Regions from separate parts of the Homo sapiens genome. Here all the other regions are linked to region 2. Evidence: promoter capture Hi-C in human tissues and cell types (Jung and others, 2019). All regions are on one chromosome and are shown on one strand. The core of a region is centred on a gene start or on the middle of the fragment in contact, and the rest is flanking DNA. Distances in the headings are between cores, read along the strand shown.

Region 1 (3,355 bases), core at 22-2,521, 70 kb before region 2:
GAGAAAAACTAGCACATTTAACATGTGTTTAACACATAAGCATTACTATTTTCATTGAGTATGAACAGAACAAGCTTCATTATTGCCATTTTAAATAGAGGGGGAGATTGAACCTCCAAGTTTGAAGAACATGCCCTAAGTCACACAGCTAGTAAGTGGCTCTGGCGCAAAAGGAAGTCTGTCTGAATATAAAGTTTATTCTTTCTCTTTTAACTACACCAGTTGGCAATGGGGAATATGAGGTGAGAGTAGGACCTTGGCTATCCCCAAATTTCCCTCCTGTAAATTTAGAACTAACAGACTCTATCTAAAGAATGAAGAAAGTTTCTAATCAGATTTTATGTCCTCTGCACATCCCATAGATAATGTTGTTTTGAAATAGCCAAGGTACTAACCATCTCTGAGCAGAAATGGACATCCCATCATCTGGAATGTGTCCCAAGTGGGCCTTATGAAAATTTTTAAGTCCCTGACAAGAGGAAGCTGACTACTCAAAATAGCTTGATTATTTTTCCACTCTCCCAAATCAAGAGGAGTGATTTCCTTGAAAATATAAGGATTTCAGAACTTTCAGAAGTGCTTCAAGTAAAACAAGATATAAGAATGTGCCTTATGAAGAATACGCCCATAATTTCCTCCCATTCAAATCCTCTTGGGAAAATACATTCACCTCAGTGCCAAAGTGGCAACTCTATAACATGTGACCAAGTCCCCTGATCACAGCTGATTGGGCCTGAGATGAACACAGGAAATTGAGGTAGTCATATTCTATTACCAGGTGGAGATGATTTGAACTCAGGGAACAACTCAAGGAAGTGGTAAAGCATTGGTCTAAACATTGAAGAAATAAAAGTCATAAAACTGAACAGTGAGACTTCCCAGGACGTTGGCAGCTAGGAGTATAACCCTGCTCAAGAGAAAAGACACACATATACTGACATTTTGATGACCCCTCCAGCCTAAGGAAACAGCAAGGTTAGCCCTGATCAGTGAAGTCCACTAACATCTTTTCTCCCCTCCCCCACCCCGCTTGATCTCTCTCTCTCACACACACACCTCTCCAATCAGCATGTAGTCCCTGTTTTTAAAACATTAAAAAGACACACACACACACAAGGCTTACCATACATTTGAGGAAAGCCTTTTACCATAACAGACAAATAAAATTTAAAAACCAGAGGAAAAAAGGGGGAGAAGAGAGAGAGAGACATGGACAAATTAGAAAAAATTAATTTCCTGAATTTTAAAAATTATGGCCAGGTGCACTGGCTCACACCTGCAATCCCAGCACTTTGGGAGGCTGAGGCAGGCGGATCATGAGGTCAAGAGATCGAGACTATCCTGGCCAACATGATGAAACCCCGTCTCTACTAAAAATAAAAAAATTAGCCAGGCGTGGTGGCTTGCGCCTGTAGTCCCAGCTACTCAGGAGGCTGAGGCAGGAGAACTGCTTGAACCCAGGAGGCAAAGTCTGCAGTGAGCCGAGATCGTGCCACTGCACTCCAGCCTGGCGACAGAGCGAGACTCCATCTCAGGGAAAAAATAAAATTATAATACACTCAAGGAAATGGCAAATGAGGTTATTAATGTGGGACTAGATAAGAGAACCATTCTTCTATTGGAAACATCTATAAAAACTGCATTTTAAAAAAGTTTAAAACTGCCTAGAGTACTGAAGGGCCCAAAAGATAGTGAAGAACTGGTGGACCAAGATGCATAAGATGACAGAGCTAACATGGAATTAGGAGCTTCTTTTAGAGACACTTATCAATTCTAGAAAAAGTATCTGAGTTGTTTAGCAGCCTTTGATAAGCTTGCAGGCCTGGGGACCAACAGGAGATATCCAAGGCCTGCCAAGGAATAGAAGGTGATAAACTTGCTATGTTTGGGTTAGGATCCTAAAGGGCTATAACTTAGAAGTAAAGGCAAATCAGAAGGTGACTCACTTGTAGGAAATGCAGCCATGTTTTAAATTATCTCACTTGCTGAAATTACATTAAGTTTATCCCAAACTGGTAGTGGATCCAGAAACTTCACAGAAGCAAAGTAAAATCCTTTCCAGAGGAGGAACATAACTTCCAAGTCCTCACATGATTTCTAAAATAATTTTCACATATAAGATCTGGCACACAATCTTAAAATAACTTGGCATACCGTAAGGCAAGGCAACAGAAAAGACACCCAGCAGAAATAACAGACAATAGACACAAACTCACAGAGATCCAAAGATTGCATAATTAAACAGTCTTTAACATAATTTGTGTCAATATGATAAAAGATAAGATGTACAGTTTCAGTAAAGACCTAAAAATAGGTACTTTTAAAACTCATAAAAGGACTTCTGCCATTTATGAGAAACTATCTTATATCAGAACAATACTTTGCCATAAACAACTAGAAAAAGTGGGTTTAAATGTCTTTTGGGAGACAAAGAAGAGCTCCCAACTTGGCCAGGAGATGAAGGGATGTGAGCCCAGAGATGGGAATCTCATAATTGGGCATGGATTTTTCCTTTGAAGCATTTGCTTCAAAAATGAAAAAGAACAATTTGAAAGCAGGGTAGAGAAAGAGAATATATTATCCGTACAAAAAAGCCCCACAACAATCACAGCTAACTTCTCAACAGAAGCTCTAAAAGCAAGAAATCAATGGGATGACTTGTTTAAAGTGCCAAAGGACATTAAATGTTCATAGAAATAGAAACAAAATTCTTAGGCTGGGTGCAGTGGCTTGCACCTGTAATCCCAGCAATTTGGGAGGCTGAGGCAAAAGGATTGCTTGAGGTTAAGAGTTCAAGAAACAGAATTCCTTATAGCAAAATAATATAAATCAATAGAATTGAAAACAAAAAAAGGAGAAAAAAGTAATGAAATCTAAAGCTAGTTAGTTGAAAAGATCAATATAATTGATAAATCTCCAGCCAGACTGATGAAGAAAAAAAAATTTTAAAGATACACATTACCAACAATAAGAATGCAGAGGCAGGGAAGATATGGACATCACCACAGATTCTACAGACATAACAGGATAATAAAGGAATACTATGATCAACTTTATGCCAATATGCTTGATAACATAGATAAAATAAATTCCTGAAAATTGTGAACTATCATAGCTCACTCAAGAAGAAACAGATAACATGAATAGTCCTATATCTATTACATAAATTGAATGTGTTGTTTAAAACACTCCCTCAATGAAAACTCTGGGCCCTGATGGCATTACTGGTAAATAATATCAAGCATTTTAAGAAGAAATAATATCAATTCTATTCAAAATCTTCCAGAATATGGAAGAGAAACACTTACCAACATATTTTGTAAAGCCAGAATTTTCCTAATATTGAAACCAGAAA
Region 2 (3,367 bases), core at 360-2,859:
TGAACAAACGATTTATTATTATTTTTTACAACTGCCTGTTACTCCGATTACTTCAAGAGTTGAAATTAAAAATGTATTAATAAGACTGGGTGCAGTGGCTCACTTTTGTAATTCCAGCACTTCAGGAAGCCGAGGCAGGAGGACAGCTTGAGCCCGGGCGTCTGAGACCAGCCTGGGCAGCATGGTGAAACTGCATCTCTACAAAAAAATTTTAGAAATTAGCTAGGCGTGGTGGTGCGTGCCTGTAGTTCCAGCTATTCGGGAGGCTGAAAAGGGAGGATGGCTTGATTCCAGGGAGTCGAGGCTGCAGCGAGCCCAGATCGCACCATTGCATTCTAGCCTAGGTGACAGAGCAAGATCCTGTCTCCAAAAATAAAATAAAAAAAAAATTAAAAAAAAGGAAAACAATGTATTAGTAAAAGTTATGTTTTGTAGAAATGTGTTGCACTCAGTCACAGTCTAGTCTCCTCAGTTACCCATATATAGGGATATAGGGATTCCTCGGGCACAAAATATGTTGTTATTTAATCCTGAGGCCTCAGCTGGAAAAGAGAGCCAAGTGCCTAGAACGAATGAGGTCCACTGTGCGGGAACTGCTTTGCAGTTTGTTAAATAATTATAACAATCACCCGAAACTTTAGACGGTTCTGTCCCCAGTGGGTCGATTTTACCCGTTTTCTGATTTACCGACTGCGTCTATGTCACTTTTGCGTCACTACCTCCAATGGCAGGGTTAAAATGATTCCTTTAATAATGAAATGAAGTTTCTCAATAATGAAAGGGCTAACTTAAAGTCGCCGGATGCAGCATTTCAAAGTTTAGGAAGTTACTTTTGAAAAGTACAACCGGCAGAGATGAGTGAACTTAGTTTTTTAACTGACTTGGAGAAGACCTTGCTAGCAGGGCAGGTTTATTACGAACTCTGTAATTATCCTTCTTTGCTAAGCTAAAGGTTTTCCTTTCCCAACCGTAAGACAGATTTCGACTTGAGTGAGAGCTGTGAACTTTTATAAAAGTGAAAGGGAAGAGAAGAAATGGCAGGCTGGGAATCTGGCCCGGAGACGGCGTCCACCGCGCTCGAGAGCAACAATCTGCATCACCAGAAAGGCAACTTCTCTACCCTACACTTGCAGACTTCCGCGAGTCCGGGAGCACTCAACGCAGTCACCCGCGCTTCCGCGTCCCGGACTAGGGAAACTGAGGCACGGTAGGCGCGTCGCGCGCAACTCCCGCCTCGGCGCCTGCCCCCTGGAAGAAACCCAGGCTTCCAGAGTTCTTCGCGCGAGCGCAGGGACTTCCAAGCCGCGCAGCTCCCGTCCGCCCCGCCCCGCCCCGCCCCGGCTCGGGACAAAGCCCGGAGCCCGCGCCGGGAGACGGAGGGCGGCTCCCGCGCGAGCCACGCTCCCCCGTGGGCGCGAGACTCCGCCCAGCTGCCGAAAGCCCGCGCCCCAACGGCGAAGCAGCCGCGCCGGTCCGCCCCGATTCCCCATGACGTCACCGGCGGCGGCAGGCCCCGCCTCCAGCCCCGGGCGGCAGGCCGCATGACGTCACCGAGGCCCCACCCCTCCGGAGCGAGTTCGGTCCTGGCGTTCATTTCATTCCTGTCCTCATTCCGAACATTCTTAGCATCGCTCGCGCCGCGCCGCGCCGCCTGAGCCGAGCCGAGCCTCTGCTGCCGCCGCCGCGGCCCCGCCGCCCGCCGCGGGCGCCCACCAAGCACTTTGCAGACTCGCTTCCACCCTGCGGGCCATTCCGCGCGGCGGGGCCCGGGCCCGGGGCGGCCGCGTCCAGGCACAGGCCATGCAGTGACGCCCCCCCACCCCTCCACCTTTGCCCGGAGCGCGGGCAGCAGCCCAGCGCGCCAGCCGGCCCCGGGGCAGGAGCGGTGCTAGGCAGGGGTGGGGTGGCCGGGCCCAGGGACCGGGAGCCGGGGAGGGAGCCGGGCACCGAGCAGAGGGCGGGGGAAGCGGCGCCGAAGTTTGCCTCGGACTCGCCGGGCGCTGCGGTGGCTCCCTGGGCCGAGGTAAGTTGGCGCGCGGGGCGGATGCTGGGGTGCGGGGGGCGCACGGGGCAGCGGGGGGCCGGCGGCGCGTCCCTCGCGGGCCGCTCTTTCTTTGCGGGCTCTGCTTTGTGTGCGACGGCGGGCGGGCACGCGGAGGGCCGCGGCCGGGCCCCCACACCCGCCTCCCCGCGCCCCCTCCGAGGTGAGCGGCCGGGCGCCGCCGCGCGACTTGCCAGGACGCCAAGTTGGGCCGCGCGCTGGGAGCCCGCGCGGCAACAGGCGGCCCCCGGCCGGCCGCGCCGCGCCCCCCGCGCGCCCCCTCTCCCGCCGCCTGCACGCGCACACACGCACACACCCTCGGGCGCCTTGGACGGGGTGCGCTGGGGAGCCAGAAGTTCGGAGCGAGCGCGGGCGGGCAGAGCCGCCGCCTCGGAGCCCGGAGCCGGCCTGCACCCCCCTGCTTTCGCCGCCGCCCCCCGGCGCCGGGTACCCCCGAGGCCGGCCCGGGTCTGCGCAGACTTGTGCCGCTGGCGGGGGGTTCGCTCCTTCTTCTCAAAGATGAAAAAGGGCACGGTCGTCTTTGCCGCTTCTCCAGGACTGTTGCTGCCGCTGCCGCCGCCGCTTCATTGCACATTCAAGTGGAAAATTTTCAGGAGTCAGCAGAAACATTGTGTCCAAAAAAGACTGAGTCGCAGTTACCACCAAACCCAGGAGGAGACTCTCCCTGGAAAACTTCCCTTCCCTTTCGGTAGGAAATACTGGGGGATTTGTTTGTTGATTGGAAGAGAAATGATCCCCGGGGGGGAGAAAATCTGGGTACACTTCTAGTCTTTGTTCGTAACAGCAACACTTGTTTTCAAAAGTCCAGAGTCCCGCTTTAAAGAAAGTTTAACTTCTGTGACTTTTCTTCTTTTTAAAAAAATAACTTTTGTATTTTTAAAAAATCAAAGCAATATTTTTAATGAGTCGAAAACAATGAGGACTCACACCTCCCCTCTCATGAAAATAAATGAAATCCAGATCAGAATTTTCTTTGCTTTTAAATTGCCTTTTTTAAAAGATTTATTTAAAGTTGGATAGTGTCACTATATAAAAATATTTATGAAACAATGAAATACCAGCCACCAGCGTTTCTCAGGAGGCTTGTTAACTTCTTAGAAGCAAGTGGCTTCCTGTGATTTGCAGAAATGAAAATTGACCTCAGTGAGCCCTGGAAACTTAGAGACAGATGATGTTCCAGGAGCAGGGAATGTAAAAAGGCCATGTTTAAAAACAGTGCGTTGGAAGGAGCCCAGGTCTTGGGATAGAAAGGTCTGTTAAGCCTGCCACATTTCAAAATAGTAAAAAGAAATACTAAAAACACTA
Region 3 (3,411 bases), core at 174-2,673, 100 kb before region 2:
AGCTATATTAGTTCATTTTCACACTGCTATAAAGAACTACCCGTGACTGGGTAATATATTTAAAAAAAAAAAAGGATTAATTGACTCCCAGTTCCACATGGCTGGAGAAGCCTCAGCAAACTTAAAATCATGGCAGAAGGTGAAGGGGAAGCAAGGCACGTCTTACATAGTGGCAAGAGAGAGAGAGCACGAAGGGGGAACTGCCTCACTTTTAAACCATCAGATCTTGTGAGAACTCACTCACTATCATGAGAATTACATAGAGGAACCACCCTCGGAATCCAATCACCTCCCACCAGGTCCCTTCCTCGACACATGGGGATCACAATTTGAGATGAGATTTGGGTGGGGACACAGAGCCAAACCATATCACAAGGATTATGGGAAAGTTTGTCAGTCTTTGCTTGGGCTCCATATTGAAAAAAGGAACTCTCAACAACTTAAAAATGTGGACCAACATCATACATTTGTTTCAACTTTGAATTTACATTCTCCATGTGATCTGAGGATACCAAAGATATCTGATGTCTAAAAACAATTATTTCAGATATGTTTGTTAGCTCGTTTTCAGTGGATTTTCATCTGTGGAAATTCTGCAAAGTTGAGAAATTAACATAATCTGGTAGAAGGAAACACAAAACTACCCTTGAGGAATATTCCATCAACACAGGCTACATAGGATTCTGACAGGAAAAAAAATGTAATCAACAGGAATCGTAGATATAGTCTGCATCCATAAAATAAGTACTTTAAAAGTACTTTTAAAGTTATTAAAGGTGAGGACTTTTATAGAGAACCCAGAAATAAATCCATACATCTACAGTGAACTCATTTTTAACAAAGGTGTCAAGAACACACATTGGAGAAAGGACACATAAATGCTGCTGGGAAAACTGGATATCCATACTCAGAAGAATGAAGCTAGATCCCTATCTCTTGCCATATACAAGAATCAAATCAAAATGAATTAAAGACTTAAATCTAAGACCTCAAACTAAGAAACTACTGAAAGAAAACATTGGAGAAACTTTTCAGGACATTGATCTGGGCCAAAGTTTCTTGTGTCACAAGCGTAGGCAACCAAAGTTTCTGTGCCTCAAGCACAGGCAACTAAAGCAAAAATGCACAAATGAGATCACATCAAGTTAGAAGGCTTCCACACAGCAAAGAAACCATCAACAAAGTGAAGAGACAACCCACAGAATGGGAGAAAACATTTGCAAACTATCCATCTGACACAGGATTAATAACCAGAATATATAAGGAGCTCAAACAACTCATAGGAAAAAAATCTAATAATCTGATTTAAAAATTGGCAAAAGGTCTGAATAGACTTTTCTCAAAAGGATACATATGAATGGCAAACAGCTATATGAAAAGGTGACTACCATTATTGATCATCAGAGAAATGCAAATTAAAACTACAATGAGATATTATCTCACCCCAATAAAAATGGCTTTTATCCAAAAGACAGGCAATAAGGAATGATGGCGAGGATGTGGAGGAAAGGGAATCCTTGTACACAGTTGGTGGGAACGTAAGTTACTACAACCACTATGGACAACAATATGGAGGTTCTTCAAAAAACTAAAAACATAACTACCATATAATCTAGCAATCCCACTGCTAGGTATATACCCAAAATAAAGGAAATCAGAATTGTGAAGAGATATTTGCACTCCCATATTTATTGCAGCACTATTCACAATAACCAAGATCTGGAATCAACCTAAGTGTCCATCAGCAGACTAAGGGATAAAGAGAACATGATACATATACACAATGGAGTGCTCTTCAGCCATAAAAAAAGAATGAAATCTTGTCGTTTGTAACAATGTGGATGGAACTGGATGATATCATGTTAAGTGAAATAAGCCAGGCACAGAAGAAAACAACTTTGCATGTTCTCACTCATTCGTGGAAGCTAAAAATTAAAACAATTGAACTCAGAAATATAGAGTAGAATGATAGTTATCAGAGGCTTGGAATGGTGATGGTGGGAGGCGGAAGTGAGTATGGTTAATGGGTACAAAAATACAGTTAGACAGAAAAAATACAATCTAGTATTTGATAACACAACAGAGTGACTATAGCCAAAAATAAAAAGAAATTAAAAAAATAAGGACTTCTACATTTGGTCAATATGGAGTAATAGAGATTGGATACTCCCTCCCATCTGAAGCAATTGAGAAAAGGACAAAACATATGAAACAATTATTTTCAGATGTTGAACATCAGGCAGTTCTGGACAATGACATCTCAGAGAGGGAAAACACAGGACATTTTAGCTTACTGCCTAGAGGGAGTTTCCAAGTCGCTGCATGAGAAGAGAGATTCCAGGCAGAGGCTAGCAGTCTCCTTGAGCTGAGGAGAAACAGCTGGAAGATAGGGAGGCTAAAGTGGCTAGACCTGACAGGACAGAGCACCAGAGAAGAGAGGGGCACATCAGGAGAGAACTCCAGAATCTTCAAAGCCTTGAGTCTTCAGCTGAGGACAGATCAGAGAATGCATGTGAGGAAACTACCCAAGGACGAGGAAAGAATCAACCAAAAAGAGTAGAAGGAAAAATCTCCAAAGCTCACACAGAGCCAAGAATAGTTTATATTCTTACCAGCCAGCATGGAAACCCTCATAATTCAAGGGCATTGAGTAAAGTACTTAAAAAGATATCATCTCATTAGTGATATCAAGATTTAGGACAAAGAAATTTGCCATGGATAAAGAGAGCTATGTAATAAGAATAATTATGATGATGATGATGATGAAGGGATCAATTCAACAAAAGGATGACGAGTTGAGAAGATGTAGCTGAGAGTCTAGAGAAGCCAAGGTGGCTAGCATTTGCAGGACAGAGTACCAGAGAAGAGAGAGTATCACAGAAAAGGAGAATCTGCAGAGGGTACCCATAGGAAGACAGCCTGTTGCACACCAAGACTGATGCCATCTTGCAGTGAAACTGCTATGATGACCCATGTTTGACCCTCACATACCAAGGTGTTCTGCAGTAAGATCTTTAAGCAATGCCTCTAGCATAGATAATCCCTCACAAAGATGCTTATCTCATCTCCCCAGTGGTTGCAAGTTTTGCAGAAAAATTTGAGGCATGACCAGCTGCACATGTCTTTACCTTAAAAACTTGCTACATAAAGGACATTTTCTGGAGGGCAGGTATGGGGAATCCACCATCTCACAGCTGCCTGAGACCACTTTTGTTTGCAAGCTCCTATTAAAAGTTTCTTTCTGAGAAACTGGATTTGTCAGCCTCTTTCTTCAGTCTATCAGCTCCCTAGCCTTTGGAGGTAGGTGTGCATATACTTGCTCACTGTGGAACAGTGCCCTTGAGTATTCAGCTGAGTATAATAAGCACATGCGTGTGGGGAAGCTAGACAAGGCTGGGGAAAGAACCACCA
Region 4 (3,139 bases), core at 612-3,111, 120 kb before region 2:
CTGGGCATCAGCAAAGATGGCCACCAAGGAACATTTGCCCTCCTTCCAAACTGGCAACCTCCATCTAACTGAACCCATGTTAACTGATGTGGCACATTTTAATACATTTCACTGTTTCAAGCTGTGGCAGCAAATTAGAGTGGGAATCTTCTTAACAGCTGCTTCTAGAGTGGCTGTCTGAAATCTCTGCATCCTTGACTCTTTTCTGCCAGCGAAAGAAAGATTTGTCTATGTATTATACGTCCTGGAGGGGTTTCATGGCAGTTCTGTCTGGACTAAAATGTCACCATTCTGTATTATTATTACATAGATTCTGCATTTTTTTCTTTTTTTCTTTCTTTTTTTTTTTTTTTTTTGGTAGAGACAGGGTCTCAGTATGTACCCAAGCTGGTCTTGAACTCCTGACCTCAAGTGATCCTCCTGCCTTCGACTCTCAAAGTGCTGGGATCATAGGAATGAGCCACTGTGCCTGGCTCACTTTTCAAATAAGTAGCATTTGAGGGTGGTATCAATATTCCAGGAATAGAATAATGAGATGTTTTTTGAGAAAACATTCAGAATGTATCCAATCAGATCAGCATTTTCTGCTTCAAGCAGTCACCCAATTCCAGTGACATTGCCAGGAGCTGCCTTAAGAAGCCTGTTGTATTTCTTTAGTTTGCCATTCTTTGACTAGAAGTAGTCAAAGCTAAGCACAAGAATGGGCTTTGCTTTATTGTTGTCATGGTGAAAGATTAGAAAAAACTTAAATGTTTATTGATAGGGAAGTGGCTAAATCAATTATGACACATTCAGTCAATGGACTACCACATAATCATTTAAAAAGTATGAGGCAGTTAAGAATGATCAACTACCCAAAGTGATTTATAGATTCAAAGCAGTCCTTATCAAAATTCCAATGGTGTTGTTTACAGAAATAGAAAAAAAAAAACAATACTCACATAGAACCACAAAAGACCCCAAATAACCAAAGTAATCTTAAGAAAGAAGAATAAAATCAGAAGCATCATACTTCCTGATTTTAAACTGTATAACAAAGCTATAGTAATCAAAACAGTGTGGTTCTGGCATAAAAGCAGACACAGACTAATGGAACAGAATAGAGAGACTAGAAACGCATGCATATATGGTCAACTATTATTTGATGAGGGCACCAAGATTACAAAATAGGGAAAGGAAAGTCTCCTCCATAAATAAAGTTAGGAAAGCTAGATATTGATATGCAAAAAAAGAGAAAGAAATAGAATCTTTATCTTACACCAGCACAAAAATTAACTCAAAATGGATTAAAGACTTAAATATAAGACCTGAAATCATAAAACTCCTAGAAAAAATAAAAAAGAACAGAGAAAAAGCTTCTTGACACTGGCCTTAGTAACGATATTTTTACGTATGACACCAAAAGTAAAGGCAACAAAAGCAAAAACAAATAAGTGGGACTACATCAAACAAAAAAATTTCTGCACAGCAAAGGAAACAACAAAATGAAAAGGCAACCTATGGAATGAGCAAAAAATATTTTCAAGTCATATATCTGATAAGGGGTAAATACCTAAAATATACAAGATATTCATGCAACTCAATAGCAAAGAAATCCCAAATAATCTCTTCTAAAAAGTGTTACAAAGAACTTGAATTGATACTTTTCCAAAGGAGACATACAAATGGCTAACAGGTACATGAAAAAGTACTCAGTATCACTAATCATCAGGGACATGCAAGTCAAAACTACAGTGAGATGTCACCTCACACCTGTTAGGATGGCTATTATCAAAAAGATGAAGTAAGTGTTGTTGAGGATGTGGAGGAAGAGGAATCCTTGTATACAGTGGGAGGGAATGTAAATTAGTACAGCCATTATGGAAAACAATATGGAGGTTCCTCAAAAAACTAAAACTAGAACTACCATGTGATCCAGCAATTCCACTTCTGGGTATATATCTGAACGAAGTTAGATCAGTGTCTCTCTGCACTCCTATGTTCGTTGCAGCATTATTCAAATTGCCAAGACATGGAAACAAATGGATAAAGAAAAAGTGGTATATATAGACAATGAAATATTATCCGGCCATAAAGAAGAAAAAAATTCTGCCATTCCTGACAGTGTGGATTAACCTGGAGGGCATTATGTTAAGTGAAATAAGCCAGAAACAGAAAGGCAAATATTGTATGATTCCACTTATATGTGAAATCTGAAAAGGTCAAACTCATACAAACAGAGTAGAAGGATGGTTGCCAAAGGCTGGGGGGGTGGGGGAAATGGGGAGATGTTGGTCAAAGAGTACAAACTTTCAGTTATAAGACGAATACATTGTGGAGGTGTAACATACAACATGGTGACTACAGTTTATACTATTGTATTGTACACTTGAAATTTGCAAGTAGAGTAGTCCATAAGTGTTCTTACCACATACGCACAAATGGTAACTATGTGAGATGATGATGCATTAACTAACTTGATTCTGGTAATCATTTTACAATATATACGTATGTCAAATCATCACATTGTTCCCTTTAAATATATACAACATTATTTGTCAATTATACCTCAATTCGCTGAAAAAAGAAAAAAAAGAATGAGCACTAAGTGTTGCTATGGACCGATCTCTGAGAAATACAGTTAAATCTGGAAATATACAAGAACTTGCTTGTATTCTTTCTAGTGAGGAGAACTAATGGCAAGGAGTAAGGACAGGGAGAAGATATTCTTGTCATCATCTAATTTTTGTATACTTTGAATTTGGTACCTTGTGCATATTTCTCATGCACAGGATGATTAATTTTTCGAAGAGTAAGAGTCTATCTAGTCCAAAAAAAAGACAGTTGAACTAGCTATGTAATTCAAACAATTAAAATCATAAGTGCTCTCATTTTCTGAGCAATTACTCTATATCAGCTTCTGTGCTAAGGCTGCTTACTACATATTTTCCTCTGATTTTCTCCTCAAAGACATCCCATCAAGTAGATTTTACCGTCTTCCTTTTAGAAATGGGGCACTGTGACTCAAAGAGTTTAGGAAAGTTGCCTGAGATTACACAATCTGCACGAGGCTAAACCAGGATTCAAATCCAGGTCAGACTAACTTTTTCCACTGGCCCCTGGGGGCTTCGCATGGTCAAACATTCAATAAGACTGTGCC

The links. The method cuts DNA at HindIII sites, captures the fragments that hold promoters and counts their contacts. A contact is called where the count stands out against the background at its distance.
Region 1: a fragment that was not itself captured here is called in contact with the fragment with the promoter of TEAD1 in region 2 in 2 of the 25 tissues and cell types used here (heart left ventricle and liver).
Region 3: a contact is called between a fragment that was not itself captured here and the fragment with the promoter of TEAD1 in region 2, in 2 of the 25 tissues and cell types used here (bladder and heart right ventricle).
Region 4: a contact is called between a fragment that was not itself captured here and the fragment with the promoter of TEAD1 in region 2, in 3 of the 25 tissues and cell types used here (heart left ventricle, pancreas and psoas muscle).

Annotation. Positions count from the first base shown.
Region 1 is chr11:12,602,869-12,606,223 of GRCh38, forward strand. No RefSeq gene overlaps it. Among named protein-coding and RNA genes, the nearest start is that of TEAD1, 70 kb to the right of the region's middle. The HindIII fragment of the contact is 6,520 bases long and covers 1-3,355 here.
Region 2 is chr11:12,672,812-12,676,178 of GRCh38, forward strand. TEAD1 (TEA domain transcription factor 1) reads left to right here and starts at 1,610. Exons shown (of 13, transcript NM_021961.6): 1 at 1,610-2,023; 2 at 2,598-2,750. RefSeq lists a silencer at 1,302-1,601 and enhancers at 2,437-3,251, 3,252-3,367. The HindIII fragment of the contact is 23,361 bases long and covers 1-3,367 here.
Region 3 is chr11:12,570,864-12,574,274 of GRCh38, forward strand. No RefSeq gene overlaps it. Among named protein-coding and RNA genes, the nearest start is that of TEAD1, 100 kb to the right of the region's middle. The HindIII fragment of the contact is 8,781 bases long and covers 1-3,411 here.
Region 4 is chr11:12,553,251-12,556,389 of GRCh38, forward strand. No RefSeq gene overlaps it. Among named protein-coding and RNA genes, the nearest start is that of TEAD1, 120 kb to the right of the region's middle. The HindIII fragment of the contact is 4,953 bases long and covers 1-3,139 here.